Regions from separate parts of the Homo sapiens genome. Here all the other regions are linked to region 4. Evidence: promoter capture Hi-C in 16 types of primary human blood cells and fetal thymus (Javierre and others, 2016). All regions are on one chromosome and are shown on one strand. Each heading gives the region's core, a stretch centred on a gene start or on the middle of the fragment in contact. The rest is flanking DNA. Distances are from core to core; before and after follow the strand shown. Region 1 overlaps RANBP2 (RAN binding protein 2). Region 2 has its middle 2.0 kb from the start of RANBP2. Region 3 overlaps CCDC138 (coiled-coil domain containing 138). Region 4 holds the start of GCC2 (GRIP and coiled-coil domain containing 2).

Region 1 (3,293 bases), core at 205-2,704, 310 kb after region 4:
CAGGCCTGATACAGCTATATATATAACAATTGATTGAAGACTCAATATTACAGTGGTAGTTGAATGTGACAGCTTTGAGGACAGAGTGTTGGGGTGCATTTAGACCCTTGCTCTTCTGCTTATTTTGACCACAGGCAAGTTTCTTAACCTCTCAATGCATCAGTTGCCTCATATGTAAAATGAGGATAATAATAATACCTTAATTCATAGGGTTTTTGAGGATATTAAAATGAGATAATAATGTAAAGTGCTTAGAACAGTGCCCAGCTGGCACATTAATAAATGCTCAATAAATGTTACCATCATCATCATCATCATCATCATCATCATTAACATCATTTGATAAATTAGGAATGAAGAAGGTATTTATTTTATGACTTTAGCTGTAGATTTTAAGATGCTATACATAATTTTCATTATATGCCAAGTATATATGCAAGTATCTTTGTAGTAATGTGGTTTTCTCTTAACCTACTTATGCCTAGTGCTCCATTATTGGAACACTAAGCTTATGGGAGTTATTTATATCCTACTGCTCAAGGTCATTGCCAAGGTCTGATTTTTCACACAGAAAATTTGCAGCCTCTGGCATAAACGGGTTAATGATGTGTACTACATCCCCTAATGAGATCTTCTTCACTTCATATTCATGTTTGAAGTTTGTGAGAATTGGTTTGCATTTAGTTATCTGTAGTTTTGTAGACAATCTACAAAATGTTTTAACTTTCTGTCTTTTAGGGCCCAGTCTATGGCATGAATAGGCTTCCACCCCAACAGCATATTTATGCCTATCCGCAACAGATGCACACACCGCCAGTGCAAAGCTCATCTGCTTGTATGTTCTCTCAGGAGATGTATGGTCCTCCTGCATTGCGTTTTGAGTCTCCTGCAACGGGAATTCTATCGCCCAGGGGTGATGATTACTTTAATTACAATGTTCAACAGACAAGCACAAATCCACCTTTGCCAGAACCAGGATATTTCACAAAACCTCCGATTGCAGCTCATGCTTCAAGATCTGCAGAATCTAAGACTATAGAATTTGGGAAAACTAATTTTGTTCAGCCCATGCCGGGTGAAGGATTAAGGCCATCTTTGCCAACACAAGCACACACAACACAGCCAACTCCTTTTAAATTTAACTCAAATTTCAAATCAAATGATGGTGACTTCACGTTTTCCTCACCACAGGTTGTGACACAGCCCCCTCCTGCAGCTTACAGTAACAGTGAAAGCCTTTTAGGTCTCCTGACTTCAGATAAACCCTTGCAAGGAGATGGCTATAGTGGAGCCAAACCAATTCCTGGTGGTCAAACCATTGGGCCTCGAAATACATTCAATTTTGGAAGCAAAAATGTGTCTGGAATTTCATTTACAGAAAACATGGGGTCGAGTCAGCAAAAGAATTCTGGTTTTCGGCGAAGTGATGATATGTTTACTTTCCATGGTCCAGGGAAATCAGTATTTGGAACACCCACTTTAGAGACAGCAAACAAGAATCATGAGACAGATGGAGGAAGTGCCCATGGGGATGATGATGATGACGGTCCTCACTTTGAGCCTGTAGTACCTCTTCCTGATAAGATTGAAGTAAAAACTGGTGAGGAAGATGAAGAAGAATTCTTTTGCAACCGCGCGAAATTGTTTCGTTTCGATGTAGAATCCAAAGAATGGAAAGAACGTGGGATTGGCAATGTAAAAATACTGAGGCATAAAACATCTGGTAAAATTCGCCTTCTAATGAGACGAGAGCAAGTATTGAAAATCTGTGCAAATCATTACATCAGTCCAGATATGAAATTGACACCAAATGCTGGATCAGACAGATCTTTTGTATGGCATGCCCTTGATTATGCAGATGAGTTGCCAAAACCAGAACAACTTGCTATTAGGTTCAAAACTCCTGAGGAAGCAGCACTTTTTAAATGCAAGTTTGAAGAAGCCCAGAGCATTTTAAAAGCCCCAGGAACAAATGTAGCCATGGCGTCAAATCAGGCTGTCAGAATTGTAAAAGAACCCACAAGTCATGATAACAAGGATATTTGCAAATCTGATGCTGGAAACCTGAATTTTGAATTTCAGGTTGCAAAGAAAGAAGGGTCTTGGTGGCATTGTAACAGCTGCTCATTAAAGAATGCTTCAACTGCTAAGAAATGTGTATCATGCCAAAATCTAAACCCAAGCAATAAAGAGCTCGTTGGCCCACCATTAGCTGAAACTGTTTTTACTCCTAAAACCAGCCCAGAGAATGTTCAAGATCGATTTGCATTGGTGACTCCAAAGAAAGAAGGTCACTGGGATTGTAGTATTTGTTTAGTAAGAAATGAACCTACTGTATCTAGGTGCATTGCGTGTCAGAATACAAAATCTGCTAACAAAAGTGGATCTTCATTTGTTCATCAAGCTTCATTTAAATTTGGCCAGGGAGATCTTCCTAAACCTATTAACAGTGATTTCAGATCTGTTTTTTCTACAAAGGAAGGACAGTGGGATTGCAGTGCATGTTTGGTACAAAATGAGGGGAGCTCTACAAAATGTGCTGCTTGTCAGAATCCGAGAAAACAGAGTCTACCTGCTACTTCTATTCCAACACCTGCCTCTTTTAAGTTTGGTACTTCAGAGACAAGTAAAACTCTAAAAAGTGGATTTGAAGACATGTTTGCTAAGAAGGAAGGACAGTGGGATTGCAGTTCATGCTTAGTGCGAAATGAAGCAAATGCTACAAGATGTGTTGCTTGTCAGAATCCGGATAAACCAAGTCCATCTACTTCTGTTCCAGCTCCTGCCTCTTTTAAGTTTGGTACTTCAGAGACAAGCAAGGCTCCAAAGAGCGGATTTGAGGGAATGTTCACTAAGAAGGAGGGACAGTGGGATTGCAGTGTGTGCTTAGTAAGAAATGAAGCCAGTGCTACCAAATGTATTGCTTGTCAGAATCCAGGTAAACAAAATCAAACTACTTCTGCAGTTTCAACACCTGCCTCTTCAGAGACAAGCAAGGCTCCAAAGAGCGGATTTGAGGGAATGTTCACTAAGAAGGAGGGACAGTGGGATTGCAGTGTGTGCTTAGTAAGAAATGAAGCCAGTGCTACCAAATGTATTGCTTGTCAGAATCCAGGTAAACAAAATCAAACTACTTCTGCAGTTTCAACACCTGCCTCTTCAGAGACAAGCAAGGCTCCAAAGAGCGGATTTGAGGGAATGTTCACTAAGAAGGAAGGACAGTGGGATTGCAGTGTGTGCTTAGTAAGAAATGAAGCCAGTGCTACCAAATGTATTGCTTGTCAGTGTCCAAG
Region 2 (3,560 bases), core at 916-3,415, 270 kb after region 4:
CTAATGCAAATGGAATTTTCAGTGCCTTGGTGAAAATGTTATACCACTGAACAAAAAAAAAATGTAGTGTAAAATGAAGTAAAATGTGAAAATCCCTAATAAATGCAGAAATATGAACTGCTTATCCAAAAGAGAAAAGTCTTTTGAGTTCCTCAAGAAGATTCTCTCTTTGGATGCTGGGCGCGGTGGATGCCGGGCACCTGTATCCGAGCACTTTGGGAGGCCGAGGCAGATGGATCACTGGAGGCCAGGAGTTCAAGACCAGCCTGTCCAACACGGTGAAACCCCGTCTCTACTAAAAATACAACAATAACCCGGGTGTGATGGCATGTACCTGTAATCCCAGCTACTCAGGAGGCTGAGGCACAAGAATTGCTTGAACCTGGGAGGCAGAGGTTGCAGTGAGCCGAGATTGTGCCACTGCAGTCCAACCTGGACCACAGAGTGAAACTCCGTCTCAAAAAAAAAAAAAAAAGAAAGAAGGAAAAAGAAGGTTCTCTCTTTGGGCACTCCTTTTCGATATATTCAACATAAATGGATTAATGATACCATTTTTACTAGGTGAGTATGTTTGGGCAAGTTGCTTCAGTGCTCATTCTCTTGGTTTCCTTTTTTTTTTTTTTTTTTTGGAGACAGGGTCTTTCTCTGTCACCTAAGCTGGAGTGCAGTGGAGTGAACATAGCTCACTGCAGCCTCCAACACCTAGCCTCAAGAGATCCTCCTGCTTCAGTCTCCCAAATAGCTGGGACTACTGGCAGGCACCACCATGCCTGGCTAGTTTTTAATTTCTTTTTTTTTGTAAGCACAGGGTGTTGCTATGTTGCCCAGGCAGGTCTTGAACTACTGGGCTCAAGTGATCCTCCCACCTCAGCCTCCCAAAGTTTTGGATTACAGGCATGAGCCATGGTGCCTGGCTGTCTTTTGCTTTCCTTATCTGTAAAAACTGAGGATAATAACAGTACCCTTACAAAGTTGGTGGAAGAATGATATTAATACAAATGAAGTGCTAACAGAAAGAGCTTTGGAACACAGCAAGTACTTGTTAGCTATGGCTATTGTTATCAACACACTTTTCAAGGCAAACTTGTGGTTTCACCTATCACCTGAGATATATGACTTTTAAGTCCATCAGATCTTCTCTTTTGGTTTTTATTTTTAAATTAATTAAATATTATTATTATTATTATTTTGAGACAGAGTCTGCTCTGTTGCCCAGGCTAGAGTGCACTGGCACGATCTCAGCTCACTGCAACCTCCACCTCCCAGGTTCAAGCAATTCAGGTGCCTCAGCCATCCAAAGAAGCTGGGATTACAGGCATGCACCACCATACCCAGTTAATTTTTGCATTTTTAGTAGAGATAGGGTTTCAACACGTTGGCCAGGCTGGCCTTGAACTCCTGGCCTCAAGCAATCAGCCCATCTGGGCCTCCCAGTGTGCTGGGATTACAGGCGTGAGCCATCGTGCCTGGCCCTCTTTTCGTTTTAGAGATAGGAATCTCATTCTCTTCCACAGGCTGGAGTGCAAAGGCATGAACATAACTCATTGCAGTCTCCAATCCTGGGCTAAAGGGATGTTTCCCCCTCTGCCTTTGGAGTAGCTGGGCCTCAGAACTGTGCCGCAACTACTGACTTCCATCAAGATCTCTGTCCTACCATTTCATCTTCCTACTAGGCTATCCCCACATGGATATATAAATGGTACCTCAAGTGAAAGAAATCAACTACCTAAAATAGGATTTTCCACTCCAAACTAGATTTTCTTTACATGTCATTTCTGTTAATGTGGGTCACACACACTGGTAAGCTCAGAATCATCTTTTTCTTTTCTTTTATTCACATCCAATATTGTTGAAATAAAACAAAATGCTGTTTTTCCTTTTTTAGAAAGGCAATACTTGTTCATTATATCAAAATTTAGAAAATATGGAAAAACAAAAAGGATAAAAAATTATCCACAACCAAAATAGCCCAAATTTCCAGTTAAAAATGTCAACGCATTTGATATTTGTCCACATAATTCAGACTGTAATGTTTACACAAATGTGAGCTTTTAAAATCTAAAAGGTTCTCACTATTAAAAATGTTTTGTTAAATTTTGTTTTAAAAGTAAGATTTTAATATCCAAATTCCCAAAATAGACATTTTTGAAGATTTGGAAAATACAGACGGCTCAAAATCTTTACATTATTACTGTTAAATTTTGGTATGTTCTGTTATTCTGCTAGTGAAATATATATAGATTTGGGGGGGCTATTCCTTTTCCTTTTTTTTTTTTTTTTTGAGACAAGGGTCTCACTCTGGTGCCCAGGATGGAATGCAGTGGCGCTATCACAGTTCATTGTAACCTGGAACTCCTGGACTCGAGGGATCCTCCCGCCTCGACCTCCCAAAGTGCTGGGGCTACCAGCTTAAGCCACTGTGCCAGGCGAATGGCTATTCCTATATACACAGTTGACCCTTGAATAACATGGGTTTGAACTGCCTGGGCCCGCTTATAAGCCGACAGAAAATACAGTATTGGAGGGGCCTGCATATAGAGAGGTCTGACTTTTCCTCTAAGTGTTCCACCCGCAGGACTGACTGCGGGATTTGAGAATGCGCGGACTTCTTCTTCTTCTTTTTTTTTTTAGGAAGTCTTACTCTCGCCCAGGCTTGAGTGCAGTGGCGCGATCTCAGCTCACTGTAACCCTCGCCTCTCAGTTTCAAGCGATTCTCGTGCCTCAGCCTCCCGAGTAGCTGGGATTATAGGGGCCCACCTCCACGCCCAGGTAATTTTTTGTATTTTTAGTAGAGATGGGCTTTCGCCATGTTGGCCAGGCTGGTTTCGAACTCCTGACCTCAGGTGATCCGCCCGCCTCGGCCTCCCAAAGTGCTGGGATTACAGGCGTGAACCACAGCGCCCGGCGGAATGCGTGGATTTTGGCATAAGACGGTGGTTCTGGAACCAATCCCCCGCCGAGATGACTGTTTAAAAAATTGTAATTGTCCAAAACTTAATATTTGTGGTCTTTTTCATTATGCAGTTCTAAATCTCCCTTTTTTTTTTTTTTTAAATTCAGACGGAGTCTCCCTCTGTCGCCCAGACGGCGCAATCTCGGCTCACTGCAACCTCCGCCTCCCGGGTTCAAGCGATTCTCCTGCCTTAGCCTCCGGAGTAGCTGGGACTACAGGCGTCCGACACCACGGCCGGCTAATTTTTTGTATTTTTGGTAGAGATGGGGTTTCCCTGTGCTAGCCAGGATGGTCTCGATTTCCTGACCTCATGATCCGCCCGCCGTGGCCTCTCAAAGTGCTGGGATTACAGGCGTGAGCCACCACGCCTGGCCCTCATTTAATAAGATATGAATTTAAAAATGTATGCTTTAGTATTCACACATGTCCGATGCAACGTATTTAACCAGTCATCTCCAGAAACTTTGTTCCAATTTACACGTTCACCAAATTGGCCTGAGTGCTTTTTTTCTTCCAATGCATTGCGCACTTATAATTTAGAACAAGTGACCAAAACGCTTAAGAGCCCATCACGCAAATTGTTATCTGCTGGAAATCTACGCCCTAG
Region 3 (3,585 bases), core at 941-3,440, 350 kb after region 4:
TTTTGATGGGGTTGTTTGTTTTTTTCTTGTAAATTTGTTTGAGTTCATTGTAGATTCTGGATATTAGCCCTTTGTCAGATGAGTAGGTTGTGAAAATTTTCTCCCATGTTGTAGGTTGCCTGTTCACTCTGATGGTAGTTTCTTTTGCTGTGCAGAAGCTCTTTAGTTTAATTAGATCCCATTTGTCAATTTTGTCTTTTGTTGCCATTGCTTTTGGTGTTTTGGACATGAAGTCCTTGCCCACGCCTATGTCCTGAATGGTAATGCCTAGGTTTTCTTCTAGGGTTTTTATGGTTTTAGGTCTAACGTTTAAATCTTTAATCCATCTTGAATTGATTTTTGTATAAGGTGTAAGGAAGGGATCCAGTTTCAGCTTTCTACATATGGCTAGCCAGTTTTTCCAGCACCATTTATTAAATAGGGAATCCTTTCCCCATTGCTTGTTTTTCTCAGGTTTGTCAAAGATCAGATAGTTGTAGGTATGCGGCGTTATTTCTGAGGGCTCTGTTCTGTTCCATTGATCTATATCTCTGTTTTGGTACCAGTACCATGCTGTTTTGGTTACTGTAGCCTTGTAGTATAGTTTGAAGTCAGGTAGTGTGATGGCTCCAGCTTTGTTCTTTTGGCTTAGGATTGACTTGGCGATGCGGGCTCTTTTTTGGTTCCATATGAACTTTAAAGTAGGTTTTTCCAATTCTGTGAAGAAAGTCATTGGTAGCTTGATGGGGATGGCATTGAATCTGTAAATTACCTTGGGCAGTATGGCCATTTTCACGATATTGATTCTTCCTACCCATGAGCATGGAATGTTCTTCCATTTGTTTGTATCCTCTTTTATTTCCTTGAGCAGTGGTTTGTAGTTCTCCTTGAAGAGGTCCTTCACATCCCTTGTAAGTTGGATTCCTAGGTATTTTATTCTCTTTGAAGCAATTGTGAATGGGAGTTCACTCATGATGTGGCTCTCTGTTTGTCTGTTGTTGGTGTATAAGAATGCTTGTGATTTTTGTACATTGATTTTGTATCCTGAGACTTTGCTGAAGTTGCTTATCAGCTTAAGGAGATTTTGGGCTGAGACGATAGGGTTTTCTAGATAAACAATCATGTCGTCTGCAAACAGGGACAATTTGACTTCCTCTTTTCCTAACTGAATACCTTTTATTTCCTTCTCCTGCCTGATTGCCCTGGCCAGAACTTCCAACACTATGTTGAATAGGAGTGGTGAGAGAAGGCATCCCTGTCTTGTGCCAGTTTTCAAAGGGAATGCTTCCAGTTTTTGCCCATTCAGTATGATATCGGCTGTGGGTTTGTCATAGATAGCTCTTATTATTTTGAAATACGTCCCATCAATACCTAATTTATTGAGAGTTTTCAGCATGAAGGGTTGTTGAATTTTGTCAAAGGCTTTTTCTGCATCTGTTGAGATAATCACGTGGTTTTTGTCTTTGGCTCTGTTTATATGCTGGATTACATTTATTGATTTGCGTATATTGAACCAGCCTTGCATCCCAGGGATGAAGCCCACTTTGCTTTCAAAGCCTTTGCAATGTTGCTGTGGAGTTGTCTTGTGCCTGTGCCTCTTAAAGGTTGGTCTGAGACTTGGGTAACAGTTTAAAATCCTAATGCATTTCTCAAAGCTTTTGCTATGCTGCTCTGGGTGTTTTTTGTGCAGGTAAAGAGGCATTAAAGTGTTAGCCAAGACTTAGGTAATAGTTTTAAACTGAGCTCCATTCTCCAAGCGTTTGCTCTACTGCTTTTGGTCTGTCCTGTGCCCGCCTGAGCGGCTCAAAGTTGAGCCCAATTTGTACAGGTTCGTAAACACCAGAGTGAGAGGATCCTCTGTTTGAGTCTCTCTTCTGCGGGATTCTCCCCACACTCTGGCTCATAGAGGCCCCTCTTCCTGATTATCTTGCCAGGAAGACTGGTTTTCTCTCATTTCTTTAGTGGACATTTTTTAGAGCTTTAGTGGAAATTAAAAAAAAATTTTTTTTTAATTGTTTTAGAGACAGAGTCTTGCTGTGTTGCCCAGGCTGGAGCGCAGTGGCTATGCACAGACGTCATCATAGCTCACTGCACCCTCAAGTCATCTTCCTCCCTCAGCCTCCTGAGTGCCTGGGACTACAGATGTGCACCACTGTGCCCAGCTAGTGGAAGTTTTTGTTCTACTTCTCCATGTCTGGGACCCACCCTGAGGCAAAATGTTGAGAGAAGAGCAAAAACAAAAATGCAGGAAACTTTACCCTTGAGGGTTGCTTCTACAAGTTTTCTCTCCCATCACAATGTCCTCCCCTTTTTTCTTTTCACAGTTGTCAGTTAGTTGTTTTATGGTTTATTTAGGGCTTTTAGCTATAATCAGTGGGAGAAGAGTGTATTGAGCTTATCCTGCTGTGCTAGAAATGGAATGCATATGTTTTTAGTATCTTTTAGATATGGAAAAAGTTGGACAATGAAAATATTAGTTTTAAAAATAACTGTATTTGTGACTATATCCTAAGTTATTTAAGGAATCAATATAGTAATAAAGTCATACAAAGATTAACTTCTTAGAATATTGGATTTTTTTCACAGGGCTAAAGAATGCTTAGATTCTCTGATCTCTCCATTTTTGTCTTATTCTTGATTCTCTTTAGATTTGTGTATCTATTTTTATTAAGTATAAGGATAACTGCCTTATTTTCATCGTATTTATATCACTACTTGGAAGAAGGGAATTAATTCAATTTTTTGATTTCCTGTAGAAACTTGTTTTAAAGCTTTATAAGTAAGTTGAAAGTGAAAGGTGAAACTATTAAGTATTCACATTTAAAATCTAAAACATGCTATCCCATTTAAATGTAATTAGAGGGGAAGTTGATTTGAATTATTTATAGAACTGATTAAGAAGAGTCAAATAGTTTGGGGCTAAGAAATTTTATTATGTATCTAACATATTTTGAGATGAAAAGCAGGCATCAAAAATTTTAGCTGCTTTATGAGGACAAGAAATTAGTTGGTTTTATGAAAGATTTCTTTCATTTCTCAAAGGTAATGTAAATTATACACTTTATAAAGCCATAAATAGCTTATCTCTTGAAGAGTATCAGAAATTCTTTACTGTTTTATTATTCCATGATGTCAAAGAAAATATTTCCATGAGTTTGTGTGAGTGGATTTTTCTGAGCAGAAGCAGAAAATAGACTCATTGCTACTTTGTAAATGCTAATATGTTTTAATAAGTATGTTGTAAATGCCTTTGATGTTTTGTTGTTATCTTGGTAGATTGCATGGTTTTTATAAATTACTTGCCACACTAGTCACTTGTGCTTGCATACACTGATTAAAGTTTTTGTGATTGAAGGAGTTCTTACTTGTAATTAATTCACGTTCCATAGTATTAGTGATATACAGTCCTTACAAGTTTTAGATGAGAGTTTTTTTTTTCTCCTCCTAGCAGCATGATGCAGAAGTTGAACACTTAACCGAAGTTCTTAAGGAAAAGAATAAAGAAACCAAGAGACTGAGGTCCTCTTTTGATGCATTGAAAGAATTGAATGATACCTTAAAAAAACAGGTAAGACCTGTTTTAATATATACTGAACATAAGACATT
Region 4 (3,154 bases), core at 279-2,778:
AGCCAAGTGCAATGGAGGGCTGGCGAGGGAAGAAAGATCAAAGGAAGAAAAGAAAGGTTCTTTTTTATTTCAAGTATGAGAAAAAGAGAGTTCTACTGTGAGAACATCAACTCTTCTGTAGCTATTGATGTAGCCAAACTCCTGGAATGTAACTATATCTAACAGTGTTTCTCTGAGAAACTTTTACAGGATTGGAATGTGTGTAGTATCTAGTTAACCTGCTATTTTATTGCAAGTGATTTTTTCAAGTTATTAATTGAAATAGGAGTCTACCGTAAGTTGCTCTTAACTTGGGGAACTACTTTGAATGGCATTAATCTGGACCATTAATAACAATGTATACTTGGGGATTGTGTGTGTGTGTGTGTATACATGTGTGTGCATATATGTGTGTACACACACGTGCACACACACGTGCGCGCACACGTGCACACACACACGTGCACACACACACGTGTACACACACACGTGTACACACACACGTGTGTTACTGTACGTGGAGACTGTACATCTTAGGTCACACACCACCCCTGAACCAATCCTACAAACACCATAGGTGATACACACTGTCAAAGACAAAGAGTAGATGTCCACAATAGCTGTTCTTTCTCGTTTATAACACTTCTTTTACCTAGTAATAATCAGCTACCATTTACTCGATACATACTGTGTGCTGCCTCTTCAACCTTTTGACCATTTAAACTACAGGAAACTAGGTTATCTTCAGGTTACCTTAGTTATGGGAGTGTATGGAAAACATTAATGGGAAGGTGAAAGCGCAGCAAACCACTTCAGCAGTTAACAGAAAGGCTCTCAGAGCACTGGACCGCCAATCAGGACACAGCAGCAGCTCTGGGATTCGACCACAGATTCTCTGGCGTGCCCTTCGGGAAAGGGTGGCCTCGGGCCCCCTACTCTACAGAGTCTCCTCCCACGGCTGCCCAGTTCCCTGGCCGACTATCTTGCCTCCACCACATCACCATCAGTACCGGGCGGCTGCAGGGCAGAGCTGTCCAGGGACCTCCTCACAGCCTCCAGAGTCAAGAAATGCCTCCTCAGGGAAGCCCTCTACCGCATCCCTGACCTGTGAGTCACGGAGCTCCCGGGCACCATGCTGGCCACAAATGCCTAAGGAGCCCCCCGGAACCAGCTGTGGGTCCCGCAGGCACTCGCAGGCTAGCGGACACCTTTGGAGGACTGAGAGACCTGTCCTGCAATCCAATGTTCCTCACTCTCACAAGATTTTACAGACGTGGAAACCGAGGCCCGAGGCCCCAAGGGGTAATCGGCCCGCCTTCCCATGCCAATAACCGGCAGTGGCGGGACCCACACCTACTCCGTGACCTGCAGGCCCAGGGGTCGAGCCCCAGGTAGAACGTCTAGACGGACTCCGCCCTTAGCGCCGTACGGGGAACCTTCTCCCGGACGCAGACACGGAAGCGGAAGTGCTGCCGAGCTGTAGCTATGGAGACGTGGGGGGCGGGCCGCCCGGAGAGCGCGACCTTTGACCTGCAGTAGAGCCTACGTCAGAGGCTGGCGCAAACAGAAGTGCAGCGGTGGCGGCGGCTGGTTGCGGGCCGGCGGCGGGCTGGCGGAGATGGAGGTAACTCAGGTCGGGCCCACTGCCTCCCATCAAGCCTTCCGCGCCGCGATTTGGGATGTGGGAGTGGGCCCGATGGGAGGGCGCGGTAGTCTCCCTCTTGGTGTCCCGAAGCCCGCGCTGCTGTCGCCTCCCCATCTTTCGTAAACTCTATCCCTGGGGGTTACCTGCCCCGTAGAGCCCGTTTGTGTACGAATTGCCACAGCGACCGCCTCCGTCCGCCCTCATTCTCTGTCTCACGAGGCTTTCCACCACTTGATTCCATAGAAGGTTTTTCCCTGTAAGGGTTCTACGCGTTCCGTGTGGAATTAGGAAAAGAGTTCTTCTGACACCTGGGTTTGATTTTGTTTTGCAGGATCTTGTTCAAGATGGGGTGGCTTCACCAGCTACCCCTGGGACCGGGAAATCTAAGGTGAAGAGAATACTTGAATAGCGGGCTTCCTGAAGAGTGGAAGGGTGATGAATTGGAAAACTTTGGCATGGGGAAGGGGGGGGCGCTGATTTTTTTTTTTTTAATAGCCTTGCTCCAAGGGATCTCAATTTTAGTGTGCGCAATCGCCCATTTCCTGTTTCTCCCCCGCCCACCCCGATATAGAAAGACTTTTTGTTTGCTTCCTGCTCCTGGTTAGCACTGCTGGGAGATCCTGCTATTTTTCGAACATAAAGCAGTCTAAGAAGGTTTATATAGTGGTGTAGTGGAAGGAGCAGTGACATAGGGTAGGAATCAAGGGATTCTGATCTGTGGGCTCCAGTTTCTACATTGCCAAAGAGTTTAATTAGTCCAGTTTTATGGCCCTGTACAATGTTTAACATTCAATCATTCTAAATGATAGTGGTTTATTGCTAAGGTTTATTGTGTGCATGCTAAATTTCTGGCGCTTGCCTAACCACTCAGTTCCTTCGTTTAAGCTTCATGATAACCATGAGATAGGTACTGTTGTTACCCTCCTTTTACAGATGAGAAACCTGAGACCACAGGCTTAAGCAATTTTCTCAAGTGGTAAAGCTCAATTTTTTAATTAAAGCCTGAATGTTACCCGGTTCATCTTGCTGCTGTAATTATGCGTAAATTTTCTTGTGACCAAAGACTTGCAGCCTTGAATAGAATGAAATAATTTTACAGCTCCAAGGAATTTTAAGTAGCATTAGCTCCAACCTACTGATTTTACAATTAAATCAAAAGCTAGCAATGTCAACCTGTAACATTAGCTATAAGAGGATATGGCCTGGTTTTTACGTTTCATAGTAGTTGCATAACTAATTTTTAGTAGTTGCATAGCAATTACAGAATTGACGTTGCATTTGCTGATTTTAAAAAATGTGGCCGGGCGCGGTGGGTCACGCCTGTAATCCCAACACTTTGGGAGGCCGAGGCGGGCAGATCACCTGCGGTCAGGAGTTTGAGACCAGCCTGGCCAACATGGTGAAACCCCGTCTCTACTAAAAATACAAAAATTAGCCGGACGTGGTAGCGGGCGCCTATGATCCCAGCTATTTGGGAGGCTGAGACAGGAGAATTGCTTGAACTTGGGAGGCAGAGGTTACAAGTGAGCC

The links. The method cuts DNA at HindIII sites, captures the fragments that hold promoters and counts their contacts. A CHiCAGO score of 5 or more calls a contact.
Region 1: a fragment that was not itself captured here is called in contact with the fragment with the promoter of GCC2 in region 4 in 5 of 17 cell types (naive CD8 T cells, total CD8 T cells, total CD4 T cells and 2 more); the score reaches 6.8 in naive CD8 T cells.
Region 2: a fragment that was not itself captured here is called in contact with the fragment with the promoter of GCC2 in region 4 in 1 of 17 cell types (total CD4 T cells); the score reaches 5.0 in total CD4 T cells.
Region 3: a fragment that was not itself captured here is called in contact with the fragment with the promoter of GCC2 in region 4 in 1 of 17 cell types (monocytes); the score reaches 6.0 in monocytes.

Annotation. Positions count from the first base shown.
Region 1 is chr2:108,762,499-108,765,791 of GRCh38, forward strand. It overlaps RANBP2 (RAN binding protein 2), which reads left to right. Exons shown (of 29, transcript NM_006267.5): 20 at 739-3,293. Among named protein-coding and RNA genes, the nearest start is that of CCDC138, 23 kb to the right of the region's middle. The HindIII fragment of the contact is 1,896 bases long and covers 507-2,402 here.
Region 2 is chr2:108,715,739-108,719,298 of GRCh38, forward strand. No RefSeq gene overlaps it. Among named protein-coding and RNA genes, the nearest start is that of RANBP2, 2.0 kb to the right of the region's middle. RefSeq lists an enhancer at 2,687-3,560. The HindIII fragment of the contact is 8,304 bases long and covers 1-3,560 here.
Region 3 is chr2:108,801,462-108,805,046 of GRCh38, forward strand. It overlaps CCDC138 (coiled-coil domain containing 138), which reads left to right. Exons shown (of 15, transcript NM_144978.3): 7 at 3,428-3,547. It also overlaps a transcript of RANBP2 not described here. Among named protein-coding and RNA genes, the nearest start is that of CCDC138, 16 kb to the left of the region's middle. The HindIII fragment of the contact is 1,116 bases long and covers 1,633-2,748 here.
Region 4 is chr2:108,447,678-108,450,831 of GRCh38, forward strand. It overlaps GCC2 (GRIP and coiled-coil domain containing 2), which reads left to right and starts at 1,529. Exons shown (of 23, transcript NM_181453.4): 1 at 1,529-1,603; 2 at 1,956-2,012. The coding sequence starts at 1,598. RefSeq lists enhancers at 469-1,451, 1,356-1,615, 1,452-2,433, 2,519-3,019, 3,020-3,154. The HindIII fragment of the contact is 5,578 bases long and covers 1-2,507 here.